Regions from separate parts of the Homo sapiens genome. Here regions 2 and 3 are each linked to region 1. Evidence: promoter capture Hi-C in 16 types of primary human blood cells and fetal thymus (Javierre and others, 2016). All regions are on one chromosome and are shown on one strand. The core of a region is centred on a gene start or on the middle of the fragment in contact, and the rest is flanking DNA. Distances in the headings are between cores, read along the strand shown. Region 1 holds the start of RETREG1 (reticulophagy regulator 1). Region 2 overlaps BASP1-AS1 (BASP1 antisense RNA 1). Region 3 overlaps BASP1-AS1 (BASP1 antisense RNA 1).

Evidence for each region. Contacts are between HindIII fragments. The CHiCAGO score rates a contact against its expected background, and 5 or more counts as called.
Region 2: a contact is called between a fragment that was not itself captured here and the fragment with the promoter of RETREG1 in region 1, in 1 of 17 cell types (endothelial precursors). The highest score is 6.5, in endothelial precursors.
Region 3: a contact is called between a fragment that was not itself captured here and the fragment with the promoter of RETREG1 in region 1, in 2 of 17 cell types (monocytes and M1 macrophages). The highest score is 6.1, in monocytes.

The regions. Positions count from the first base shown.
Region 1 is chr5:16,614,687-16,619,197 of GRCh38, reverse strand. RETREG1 (reticulophagy regulator 1) reads left to right here and starts at 2,201. Exons shown (of 9, transcript NM_001034850.3): 1 at 2,201-2,546. The coding sequence starts at 2,227. RETREG1-AS1 (RETREG1 antisense RNA 1) reads right to left here and starts at 3,272. Exons shown (of 4, transcript NR_109946.1): 1 at 2,712-3,272. RefSeq lists a silencer at 1,958-2,447. The HindIII fragment of the contact is 3,701 bases long and covers 1-2,894 here.
Region 2 is chr5:17,204,395-17,208,905 of GRCh38, reverse strand. All of the region lies in intron 1 of BASP1-AS1 (BASP1 antisense RNA 1), which reads left to right. Among named protein-coding and RNA genes, the nearest start is that of BASP1-AS1, 11 kb to the left of the region's middle. The HindIII fragment of the contact is 3,966 bases long and covers 1-3,910 here.
Region 3 is chr5:17,185,631-17,190,141 of GRCh38, reverse strand. The region is part of intron 1 of BASP1-AS1 (BASP1 antisense RNA 1); the gene reads left to right. Among named protein-coding and RNA genes, the nearest start is that of BASP1-AS1, 30 kb to the left of the region's middle. The HindIII fragment of the contact is 3,942 bases long and covers 1-3,859 here.

The sequences.
Region 1 (4,511 bases), core at 952-3,451:
GGGGAACGGGGACACCTGGTTCTTCCTCTCTCCTGCCCCATGTTCTCCACACTGGCTGCAGCACACATCTGTCTAGTGACAGATTTTAGAATAGCAAACCCTGGGCTGTATCAAGCGCCAAACAAAGGCCAAATGACACAATAAAAGCATCATTTATCTTTCAAAAACTTCTCCGCTACTGCCAAGAGGGAGGACCCACACCTGGGAAAAGATTGTCTCTCTTATATGGAAGAAACCTGAATTGTTTCCACGTTGCTTTTTCCTTGACACCCAGGCCACTTTCCATCGGGTTGTCAGGATACTCCTAAGAAGGGGAGTCGGAAATGCCAGATGTTCTGTATCACCTTTAGTTAAAAACCAAGCCTCCTGTTACTAGAGACCATTCAATGTCCACTATTCCCTTTGGTGAGTTACTTAAGGAACTGTGCGTCTCCACCTGCAACCCCATGCCTCCTCTCCTGTTGAATTCCCAACAGCAGTTATTGCCCCTGTCCCCAATCCCCACACTAATGGGGGCCCTACAATTTAGGGCAGAGGCCATTTATTACAAAACGCTCTTGAAACCTGATCCCTCCACTCCTCCCCTAATTTTGGATGCACAGTTTAAGTAAGGAATCTCTTAGCACTTAGCGAAGGCTTCTTCGCTGTGGCAGATATCACAATTGTAACTGGGCCCTCATCAGACTGGGAGCTTCCTGTGGGTGGAAGCTGCATCCACAGAGCTTAGCAATGCTTTGTGTACTCGGTAGGTGCTCAGTAAGCCTTTGCCTGGGCTCTGGGAATATAACTCCTTTGAAGTACAACATACAAGCAGTAAAGTGCAGACACCTGCAGTGAATGTACAGATCAATGGATTCCACGTGTGTATACACAGAGGTTTACAATGGCCACCCAGAGGAGCGTTACAGAACATTCCCCTAGAGACTCCCTTGACGCAGGGAATTTAATTGCCCTCCCTTCCATCCTGTGCAGGCAGGCTGGTTGCCAGTAAAGGGATATGAGATGCCCTGATGCATCCGCAGACAGAACCCTTAGTATGGGGGGGAAGGACCTGTCATTCTAGAGTAAAAGTAAGACCAGGAAGATTAAAGAAGACAAAAATTTAAAAATGCAAATGGTGAAAAGCATAAACAACTATTTTCCTCTCTCCCCACACTCACCCAGAAGCACCGGGGCCAAAGAGAGGGCATGGGAGGTCTCAGGATCCCCTGCCGCCCCACCACTGCCCTGATGCCCGCTTGTGACGCAGAGACCGGAGTGGCTCTGAAATTACTGTCTTCAAAGCAGGCCAAACCTTGCTTGACACGTGCAAAGTTCCAATCTCTTGCTTCTCAGCTCCCCGCACGCGCGGGCCAACGTGCACTTCTGAGCCAGATCACCTAGCCACAAGGAGGGGGAGAGAGGGGGAGATAGGAGGAGAGAGGGGAAGATAGGGGGAGAGACGGGGGAGAGAGAGGGAGAGGCAGAGAGAGAGAGAGAGACAGAGAAGAGAAAGGAAGCACCTGAGACAGAGAGAAAGAAGAGAGAGAAAGGAAGCAGCTTCCCCCAACGCTGCGGCCTTGTGTTTCCTCCCGTGTCAAACGAGAGGGCCCCAAATTGACCCCAAATGTTTTTTCTTCCTTTCTCAATCCAACATTTATACCAGCACGTTATTTCCAGGATGCCCAGGACCTCTGCTATGGTTGTGCTGCTGTCCCTGCAAAGGCGCTGGGGATGGCCGAGGTGGGGGATGTCTCTGGGGGCTGAAATACGCTGCCAGGGGAAGGGGCGCCCCGATACCACCCTCAGTGGCTGCTGGTTGGGCGACCGGTGGCCCTGGCTTGAGAAAGTGAAAATGTCCAATCTATTTTGCCTGGAGCCTTGGGTCTCTTTTGGATACGGAACCGAGCAGCAGTCCTCCACTTCGCCCTCTCCCGCCGCTGCAAGGGAAAAGGTCGTTTTCCTCGAGTCCCGGAGAGGCCCTCCAGGAACCCAGAGCCCCCCGGGGACACCGCCCAGCTCCCGGCGCCCGGCCCCGCCCCTGCGCGAACTCGGCCGCACCCACTTTCCCGGGCGGCTCCCCCTCCGTGGCCTGTGGCGTCACAAGGCCCCCAGCCGCCTGTGCCCCGCGGTGCGCGCCCCGCTCCGGGACCTGCCGCCACCGCCGCCCCGCCCTCGGCGGCACCCACACCCAGGCGCGCCCGCGCGCGCGCCCGGCCCCGTCCCTGTCTGGAAGCACAGCTGAAGATGGCGAGCCCGGCGCCTCCGGAGCACGCCGAGGAGGGATGCCCGGCTCCTGCCGCCGAGGAGCAGGCGCCGCCGTCGCCGCCACCGCCCCAGGCATCCCCCGCAGAGCGGCAGCAGCAGGAGGAGGAAGCGCAGGAAGCTGGGGCGGCGGAGGGCGCGGGGTTGCAGGTGGAGGAGGCCGCGGGCCGGGCGGCGGCCGCGGTAACCTGGCTGCTCGGGGAGCCGGTGCTGTGGCTGGGCTGCCGCGCCGACGAGCTGCTGAGCTGGAAGAGGCCGCTGCGGAGCCTGCTCGGCTTCGTCGCTGCCAACCTGCTGTTCTGGTGAGAGCTTGGGCAAGGTGGGGGCGCTGAGGAGGGCAGGTGACCTTGGGGCGCCCGGGGCCCCGGGGACCCAGTGCAGGGGGAGCCCGCGGGACACTGCGGAGGAAGAATTGTCAGCCCTGCCCCACTTTCTCGGCCACCTGTCTCGAACAGGTAGACACTCACCGCAACTTTCCTCCGGACGCACGTCCCTGTGAGCAGTTGTCGTTCTCCGTGTGCGGATCCAGCCTCAGATGCGAGGTGGTCGGCCGACCCTCAGGCACCTGCACCTACAGGTGTTCCCATCGTGCTTGAAAACTTCGCCCCTGCTTTCTAAAACTCTGAGGTCTTGACCTGCTCGCCCAAGCTTGCCGGAGCAAACGTGCTTGAACGTGTCTTGGTTCTTGCAGCCCCAGCAGGCATATCTGGACCAGATTAGGTACCCGTTCAAAACGGTGCCGCATTCATCAGTCACCTGAGATGGGCCCTGAATGATTTGTTTTTTCCTTCCCCTGGAGCGTTAGGTTTACTGTGTTTACTCCCTGATGAGAAAACGGGAGGCAAACAAGCAGGTGGAGTATGCCCAGCACCCACCCCCGGGTGTGCACAGTGTGGAAAACAGGCATATTTTTAGGTGAAGTACAGGGAGAACACACGGGAATGCTCAGCCCCTGAGCAACAGGTTTGTCTCTCCAAAAAGCGCTCTTCAGAAAGGCCAGGGAAATGTCTGTCTCCTTCGTTGAAAGTGGTGTCCTGTCATCCGTTACCACGCTATTGAGGGCGGAGAAAAACCTTCTTTGTTTGCTAAGTGTCCTCATAACAAACATGACCTACACAGTGCAGAATAATCAGACTCCGGTAACAGATACCTTGTTACAGGACAGAGATTTCTGAACCTTAAAGTTGAGAAATAAATAAATTGCACAAAATAGACAGCCTGTCATTTTCTAGGTTAACTTGAGCAAGATGAATATTTTCCTCAGATCTCTGCTAGTCCTGGTGTTTTCTCTTAAAACTAGCTGTATCTTGTCGGAGGTCCCTGAAAGTGAATTAACTTTGGATCTCTTAGGTATCTGTGTTTGGAATAGAGTTTATTCCAAATCTATCTTATTATGGAGTGAATGCGAGCACTCAAATAAGAAGGACATATTGTCTTATGCTAGATTGGGCAATAGTCTAATAGTCTTAGGGCTGTGTCTCACTAATGTTTACGATGTTTTTAACATTTTATTTCTTTTTCTTTTCTTTCTTTCTTTCTTTTTTTTTTTTTTTTGAGATGGAGTCTCACTCTGTCGCCCAGGCTGGAGTGCAGTGGCGCGATCTCGGCTCGCTGCAAGCTCTGCCTCCCGGGTTCACGCCATTCTCCTGCCTCAGCCTCCCGAGTAGCTGGGACTACAGGCGCCCGCCACCACGCCTGGCCAGTTTTTTGTATTTTTTTTAGTAGAGACGGGGTTTCACCGTGTTAGCCAGGATGGTCTCGATCTCCTGACCTCGTGATCCGTCCGCCTCGGCCTCCCAAAGTGCTGGGATTACAAGCGTGAGCTACTGCGCCCGGCCTTAACATTTTATTTCTTAATTTTAAATTTTATTTCTTTAAAAAACTAATACAGTCTCACAGTGCAAAAGTTTAAAGGTACAAAAGGGTAAGCATTTTGAAAATCTCTTTCTCATCCCAGTCCCTGGCCGCCCAGTTTCCTCACGGAGGCCAGCAATGTTGCTAGTTTCCTGTGTCTCTTTCCAGATAGTGCACATTTCAGCAAATACACCATATTCTATGCAAATTGTGGAATAACATATGAGCTCTTCCTTTTCCTAGTATTTCTTGGTGATTGCTTCCTTGTTCTTTTTCAGCTGCTTCAGAATTCTATTGTAAGGATGTCTCAAATTACTTAACCTGTCTCCTACTGAGGCAGTAATGTTTCCAAGCTTTTGCTATTTCAGCATTATAGCTAATGACCCTGTACATGCATCATTTTGCATATATGC
Region 2 (4,511 bases), core at 678-3,177, 590 kb before region 1:
CACATCTCAGTTTCTGATTCTGCCTCCCTTCTTGCGTCTCAAGCAGAGCTTTTCAACCTGGGGACCCCAGTCTCCTGGGGGATTTTGGACAGATATTAGGGAGTTCTTGCCCCCCTCCACCCAGATTTCTTTCACTAAATGCCAGACATTTTGGGTTGAACTTTAAACAAATACTGAAGAACAAAAATTGATTTTTCAAGTATTGTGTTGGCAGAAAAACAATAAGAAATATTTGTATTTTAAGGGCCTCCTCCTCTTCCTCCTCCAGCTTCTGAGTTTAAGACCTTGGTTTATATTTGGCCACCATTTTTCTTTCTTTCTTTCTTTCTTTCTTTTTTTTTTTTTTTTTTTTTTTTTTGAGACAGAGTCTCTCTCTCTCTCTCTCTGTCACCCAGGCTGGAGTGCAGTGGTGCGATCTTGGCTCACTGCAACCTCCACCTCCTGCGTTCAAGCAATTCTTCTGCCTCAGCCTCCCAAGTAGCTGGGACTACAGGCATCACTATGCCTGGCTAATTTTTGTATTTTCAGTAGAGACAGGGTTTCGCCATGTTGGCCAGACTGGTCACAAACCCCTGACCTCAGGTGATCCACCCCCATCAGCCTCCTAAAGTGCTGGAATTACAGGCATGAACCACAGCATTATGGCCACCATTTCTGCCTGGAAGGGCACGGTGGGACTCTAACAATGGACACCCCACGTCTTGTTAGTAGCTATTTCAAATCTTCTGAAGGATGAGAAGACTTAAAATCTATTCTCTTAGCAATTTTCAAGTATGCAATATATTGTTACTAGTTGTAGTCACTATATGAGGCCATGTCTATGTTAAATAGTTTCATGTAGTCATTTCACATTTTCTGTATACATCTATCAAAACATCATGTCGTATACATCATAAATATATATAATTTTACTTTTCAATTTTAAAAATTCATTAATAATAAAATTAAAAATCCTATTAAAAAAACCTGTTCAAGGGCCTGCAAATTGCTGGGGGGAAGCGCAAGAGGCAGGAAGCACAGAGAAAGGAAGAGGCAACCTGGGCCAGGAGGAGGGCAGTTGTTCCCCAGCAACCCCCTGGATCCACACAGAGGCACCCTAAGTGGCTCCTGGGGAACACCGGGAGGAGATCCGAACCGGAAGACCAGGGACCTGACACCTGCACCTGACCTCAGGTGATCCACCCACCTTGGCCTCCCAAAGTGCTGGGATTACAGGTATGAGCCACCACGCCGGACCCTGACTTTTTTTTTTTTTTTTTTTTTTTTTTTTGAGACAGAGTCTCGCTCTGTAGCCCAGGCTGGAGTGCAGTGGCGTGATCTCAGCTCACTGCAACCTCCACCTCCCAGGTTGTAGCAATTCTCTTGCCTCAGCCTCCAGAGCTCCTTCTTGGATGGGGATGCTGAAGACCCCACCTGAGGGTGGGGAAGTGGAATTAGCCTAAAGGACATATGTAACTACTGGTATAAAAAATGCCACCCACTGCATAAACTTGTGTTTGTCACTATATTTTTTTTTCTTTTGGTGGGTTGGCGGGGGACAGAGCCTCACTCTGTTGCCCAGGCTGGAGTGCAGTGGTGCAATCTTGGCTCACTGCAGTCTCCGCCTCCTGGGTTTCAGCGACCCTCCTGCCTCAGCCTCTGGAGCAGCTGGGATTACAGGCGCCCACCACCACGCCCGGCTGATTTTTTTGTATTGTTAGTAGAGACGGGGTTTCGCTGTGTTGGCCAGGCTGGTCTCAAACTCTTGACCTCCGGTGATCCACTCACCTCAGCTTCCCAAAGTGCTGGGATTACAGGTGTGAGCCACCAGGCCCAGCCATGTCATTATATTTCTTAATGTTGTCATTAACTGATAATCTCAAAAGTACTGACTTTTTTTTTTTGGGCAGTCTCTCTCTCTGTTGCCCAGGTTGGAGTGCAGTTGCTCGATCTTGTCTCACTGCAACCTCCACCTCCTAGGTTCAATCGAGTCTCATGCCTCAGTCTCCCAAGTAACTGGAATCATTTTTAGTAGAGACACGGTTTCACCATGTTGGCCAGGCTGGTCTCAAACTCCTGACCTCAGGTGATCCACCCGCCTTGGCCTCCCAAAGTGCTGGGATTACAGGTGTGAGCTGCCACCACGCCCGACCCTAACTTTTTTTTTTTTTTTTTTCAGACGGAGTCTTGCTCTGTCGCCCAGGCTGGAGTGCAGTGATGGATCTCGGCTCACTGCAACTTCTGCCTCCCGGGTTCTAGCAATTCTCCTGCCTCAGCCTCCCGAGTAGCTGGGATTACAGGCGTCTGCCACCACGCCCAGCTAATTTTTTGTATTTTAGTAGAGACGGGGTTTCACTGTGTTGCCCAGGCTGGTCTCAAACTCCTCAGGTGATCCTCCTGCCTTGGGCTCCCAAAGTGCTGGGATTACAGGCATGAGCCACGGCACCTGGCCAACATATTTTTTTAAGAACAGTTGAAAACTAAGTTTAAGCACAGAGTCCATGCCTTCAGAAATACAGAGTCTGATAGAGATGCTGATAATCTAGAGCAGAAGTCAGCAAAATTTTTCATAAAGGGTCAAATAGTGAATATATTTTGCTTTGAAAGCCATGAGATTTCTGTTGACACTACCCACCACTGCCACTGTATCAGGATGCAGCCACAGACAATGTGTCAACAAATGGACATGGCTATGTTCCAATAAAACTTTATTTACATAACACCTAGCAGGTCACTCTTGACACAAGGGAAGCAGTTTGCCCATTCCTGATCTGTATCATTAATAATTTGCTTCTGCTAAAATCACTCCTAAACTATAATAATGTGAGTTTGAAGGTTCCTTTCAAATAACTCAAATTGCTTTAATATGTATTATCTTATCTACCTTAGGAAATTATCTGGGAGCAACAAATAAATGGAGAAAAAAGAGTTCTCTAATTTTTTAACATGTCATATACAGAATTTCATGTGAATATTTCCACATTCTCAAATCATTATTTTTTCTTTTCACTAAGGTTAACTCTGTACATTCTTTCATGTATTTAAATACATTTCATTGTTTTTTTCATCCACTCAAAACATTTATGACATAAGGTGATGACATTTGAATTTAATCCCAATTTCCATTAGGAGAGGCTTATACTCCCTTCTGAGGTTTATTTTATTTTAATCTCATGAATTTCACAATATCCTAGTAATTGAAATATAGCTTGAAATATCTGCCAATGTAATCTGGAATTATCTCCTTGTAGAGAAGCAAAATGGGGGGAAGAAAGCAAGTAATGTCAGTCAACTAAAAGGCATAGAGATAAAAGGAAATGAAATAGGAAGCAGAATAAATGCCAGGTTTAGTGCACGACATTTTTCTGAATGGGACATTTTTTAACATTCTACAATATAATACTTTTACCTCATGATATAGGATAGCAGATGAATCCTGGCTAAATGAATAGATGCAGATGTATTTTCAGTTATCTTAGATTAATTCCTGAAGACTGCAGTTTAATAATTCTGAGTCTGAATTTCATTTTTATTATATCACTACATGTTGAGAACCCTTCAAAAGTTTGTCTAGTTCAATTCTAAAATTCAACTGAGGCTGGGCACAGTGGCTCATGCCTGTAATCTCAGCACTTTGGGAGACCGAGGCGGGCAGATCACCTGAGGTCAGGAGATCGAGACCAGCCTGATCAACATGGTGATACCCTGTCTGTACTAAAAATACAAAAATTAGCCAGGCGTGGTAGTGCATACCTGTAGTCCCAGCTACTTGAGAGGCTGAGGCAGGAGAATCACTGGAATCCAGGGGCAGAAGTTGCAGTGAGCAGAGATCGCACCACTGCACTGAAGCCTGGGTGACAGAGCGAGATTCCATCTCAAAAAAAATTAAATTAAATTAAATTCAGTTGAAACAACAATGTTTTGAAAAGCTTTTTAAAACACTCTTTAAAATTTAGAACTGAAAGAAACCATGTCCAAAAATACACAGCCAAGTCCCCTCCCACATTCGGGGTAGGTATTGATAACCAATCAATATCAATCAATCAAAGCATTCTTTCTGTGGCTAAAAAGTATTTCGTAATACTATGCCCCAGATTCTACTGCCAGTTAATCTGATCTCACCCCAAAGCTGATATGTCATTGTCATCTGCACTGTAGTCCAATTTCTTCATGTTATAAATTGAAAATCTAAGACATATTGAGGTTAAAGGATCTTCTCAGTGCCAAAGATGCTGCTCCAGTCAGTTCAACGCCTTTCTGCTTCTGTTTTTGCAATACCAGATTGCCCCTACACCAGGAGGGGATGGGGTGGCCACTATGGCAACATGAATTTTAAACATATGCAAACTAAACATAATTTGAGTCACCTACTAAACACTGGAAACGATTCCTGAGTGCTGGGAATTCAGCAACAAACAGGGCAGACGCAAGGCTTGCAGGCATAAGAGGTAAAAAGAATAAGGTCACTCCAGATAGTGCTTCCTCTCAGGAGGGGCCGCTTTCTAATGAACGCTTGTGGAAGGTGTGTAGGA
Region 3 (4,511 bases), core at 639-3,138, 570 kb before region 1:
TGCTCCCTGACTACAGGTCAAGTGGATGCTCTCCTTGTGACTGTAGCAGATGGAGGAGGAAAGGTAAAGGTGAATGCAAGAGGCTAGAAACATACATTGTGATCCCTTTTTTAAAGCCTTTGATTTTTTAAGATTAAACTAACCCATTTTTTTAAGTATATGATTTGTTCATTAAACTACAAATACATGTCTTGGATTGCAAGCTGAAGAGCAACTGAGAGCTAGGAGAGGCATGATAAGACCCAGGAAAGAAACTACAGCAAGGCGCCCTCATGTCGCTTAGAATACAATGCAGGTCCCTGTAGCTCCTGCTCCCTGAGCCTCCTGGCACGCCTGTTAAACAACCACTGCCTTATTCACGCAGAGAACTTGCCATGCTGGGGTCGCCCAGGGAAAGTGAAGTTTTGGTCAGTGTTTTGGGTTGAATTGTATGTCTTCTCCGAAAAAATATGTTGAAGTCCTAACCCCTCTTTACATGCCAATGTGACATTATTGGAAGGAGGGTCTTTGCAGTTGTCCTCAAGTTAAACTTCGGCCACTAGGTGGCGCTCATCCAATGTGACTGCTGTCTTTATAAGGAGAGGAGATTTGAACACTGAGATGCAGAGACAGAACGCGGTGGGACGACAGAGGGAGAGAGGGGGGTGATGCGTCCACTAGCCAAGGAACACCAAGGACTGTTAGCAGCTGGGAGAGATGGAAGGAGCTCCGGAAGAAACCAGGCCTGCCCACACCTTGATTTCAGACTCCTGTTCTCCAGAATTGGAGAAAATAGATCTCTTGTTTTAGGTCACCCAGTTTGTAGTCCTTCATTATGGCAGCCCTAGGAAACTCATGACCAAATCTGGAAAAAGTAGGCCGGGCACGGAGGTTCACGCCTGTAATCCCAGCACTTTGGAAGGCCAAGGTGGGTGGATCACCTGAGGTCAGGAGTTCGAGACCAGCCTGGGCAACATGGCAAAACCCCGTCTCTACTAAAAATACAGAAATTAGCTGGGTGTGGTGGCGGGCGCCTGTAATCCCAGCTACTCAGAGCCTGAGACAGGAGAATCACTTGAACCCAGGAGACGGAGGTGGCAGTGAGCCAAGATCGTGCCACTGCACTCCAGCCTGCACAACAGAGCAAAACTCCATCTCAAAAAAAAAAAAAAAATGGAAAAAGTAGAATGGAATTCTGGGAATGATAATCAAGAGAGGTTCAACTGCTGAAGCACGAAGTTTTAAGGCTTTTTTTTTCTGTGTCTTCTCCTTTTCTTCCCTATTTTCCGGTCTACTCAACCCCGATATTCCAATTTCTCAATATGAAATATTATTTTTAGTTATCTTTAAACGCACAGCTGTTGGTGATTTCTGGAGACATGCCCATTTTTTCCAGTCCATTTTGTAGATCTCCTCAAATACCTAAAAACTTCACAGTCCAGTTGGCATTTTTAAAGCACTTTGCTCCTTTGAGTTGCTCAAATTATTTGACATAAATGTTCCCTTATTCATGTCAGTTTAAAGGAAAAGATAAGTACAGATCTTATTTTAAACCTCAGGAAATATACAGCAAAGTTAAGCATCTTATAGTAAATCACGTTGCCTTTCAGCGAGTGAGCAGAGCCTGGTGGACGGACTCCCAACTGCCTGTATAGTCTTTTTAAAGTATTATACAATTATATTTTATTCTTTATTACCCACCTACAAGACAAGAATGAATAAATCCTCCAAAATGGTGGTCACTCAAGAGTTGCCTTTTGGGGACCTTTCTCTTTTTTTTGATAGAAATGCCTCTGATATTTTGAGAATTCATAAAATCTCAAACAAAATGGAGCGAGTACCTTGTCATGTTCTAATTCTCCAGTAACCACAAGAATCTTCCTTCCTCTCCATTCCATTCTGAGAAAGAGCCACTTCACCTCTCAGAATGATGGGAAAGATAAGGCACAAGCCAAGCCAAATCTTCTCCCCCAAATTCCCTGGCTCTACACGTCCCTGGGACAGGAAGGTCTCAGCTCGCTGACTTGGGCATCCTCTGTGTGCCACAGGTGGGGGATCACCATAGAGAGCCCTCGGTCGGACTCCCTCTGCCCCTGGCATTCTGCCTCCCAAAGTTAAGTGTCATCTTAAAGATGGAGCCACACCAGGGAAAATTCCCTTATCCTTGCTGTGTTTCAGCAGAAGTGAAACAGACTGGAATTTCCAAAGCTACTAAAGAAAGGAGAAAGGGAAATCAAAGAACATCAAGAAAATTTAACAAGCCTAAAACTCAGAAGCACAGAAACATGGCTGAGCGTGTCCACCGCTCACAGGCCCTGTGCCACCCCTCCTCCAAGCTCACGGGCTTGGTTCACATGATCAAGACCACCCTGTGGCTTCCTTGCTTCCCAGCTACAGAGTCATGGCCACTGAAAAGTGCCACCTCACCTCCCTGCCAAGTCTGTGTCCTAGACAACTAACTCCCTGGATCAGGGGCATTACTGAACTAAGACCAAATCTCCAGATGAGAGAGAGATTATCAGATTCTTCACATGCGATCCAGCTTGTGGGAATGCGGGTGGGGTATAGGAAGTGGTTCAGCCCCATATGGATCCTTATAATGGAAGAATTATGAAAAATATAACCACAGAATAAACATGACAGTCACACAAGATGAGTCAGGTACACACCACAAACTGTGTAGGTCTCAGTGAAAGTAGACTATCTGGCTGAGGTTGGAGGGTCCTAGGCTAGTGCTACGGGGAGACAAGGACATGGTAGACAGGAAGGAGGTGACCCAGGCAGGGAGAAGGAGCAGATAGATTAGGAGGTTGTTGCCAGAAAGTGGGGCAGGCCTGTGGTAGAAATGCATGCCCCAGAGTTAAGGAAGCTGGGAACTGTCAGGAGCAGGTTGTGTGGTGCCAAAGAACACTGACATTTTTCAAATGGTGGGGGATTTGAAAAGGCAAGTGAGCAGCCCAAATGTGATCATAGTTAACGTCGACTGAGTTACACCAGAAATGTGCTAGACACTTCATATGGATCTTCTCATGTAATCCTCACAACAACCCCATGCTATAGAAGTACTGCCGTCCACATTTTATAGAAGAGTTAACAAGCCTTCAAAAAAGTAACTTGACCAAAGTCTCACAGACTAGTGAGTACAAAACCGAAATTAGAACCCACATCATTGGATATTGAAGCCGGAGCACTTAACGCTATATATGCGCACACACACGAGCACACGTGCACGCACACGTGCACACACACACATACACACACACACATCTTAAATATCAAGGACTCTACAGAGCAGGGGTATTTTCCAAAAGGAGGAAGAGTCATAGATTGCAAGTGATCATGGAGTATTGGCGTAAATGGGTCCCCAACCCAGTAGATGAAATGTGAAAAGGGGGAAGCCGGGATACTCTGGAGAGAGCAGAACTTCAGCTAGGGTGCGCATTCTCTGAGACTGAGGACACAGAAGGAAGTATCCACTGAAGAACAGGAATCCCAGACAGCCCAATGGAAAGGGTTGCCATGAGAGTAAAAGAGGAGTCAGGAGTCCATGGGAAAGCCCCACAGAGCAGCAGGGAGCAAGGGCATGCAAAGGAGACAGATTACCAGCCTGGCCAGAGCTTGGGTGATCCTTGGAGATGACAGGATGGTAGGGCAGATGGGACAGACTCCAGGGGGCCGCAAGTGTGCTGCTGTTTCCCCGTCCTCTGAGCTGCCAGGGCCTGGAGCACTCAGCCTGTGGTCAGTTGGTCGCCGGCCCTGGTGGAAGGGGAATCTTTGGGGCCACAGATAGTGGAGGAGGAAGGAGCTCTGCCTGGCCCCCTGGCAGCTGGGAGCTGGGAGCTGCCAGACCTTGAAGGAGAATTAGTTGGTCTAGGAAGCTTACCCTGGCATGACTAGGGAGGTAAAATAATCTGCCTAATGTACATTCCTCTTTTCCCCTGGAAAATCTGAAATAGAGAGCAGCCTGCTCTAAGCATGGTTGTACATTCTGCTTATTTGAAGAAGCCAGGCAAGGAGTTCCCCACAAGCAGCAAGACATGTAGGAACTGTAACGTGGAAGAACCTAAAACTATATTTTTGGTTCTCAGGTAAAGTAGGTCATGTATGGCAGCCATGTGACTAATGTCAGAATCACTGCTTTCTGCCTATTTTTCTAGTCCTCCAACCGTTTATTTATATTTGGAAACTATCTCAACCAGCCACTAACTGTATGTCATGGGCTTTCTCAACCGTCTTGTACACCAGCCATCTCTGACTCCTGCCAGCAGGGATCATGTTGAAACAGTTTGGGAGTGTGGTTTTTAGGTTCCAGCAAAATACTTCTTAAAAAAAAAAAAAAGCCTCCTAGGAAAATGAGTTTGAACTGTATGTAATTTCTGCTTCTGTTGAGTTTTCTGCAATGGTTCTTTCAAGCTAAGAACAGCCCAATACTCAAGCGAGGATCATTTCTCTTGGCCACTGATCCATTTTTCCTTTTTTATTATGGAAAGTTTCAAACATGCAAAAATATAGAGAAAAGAACAATGATGACC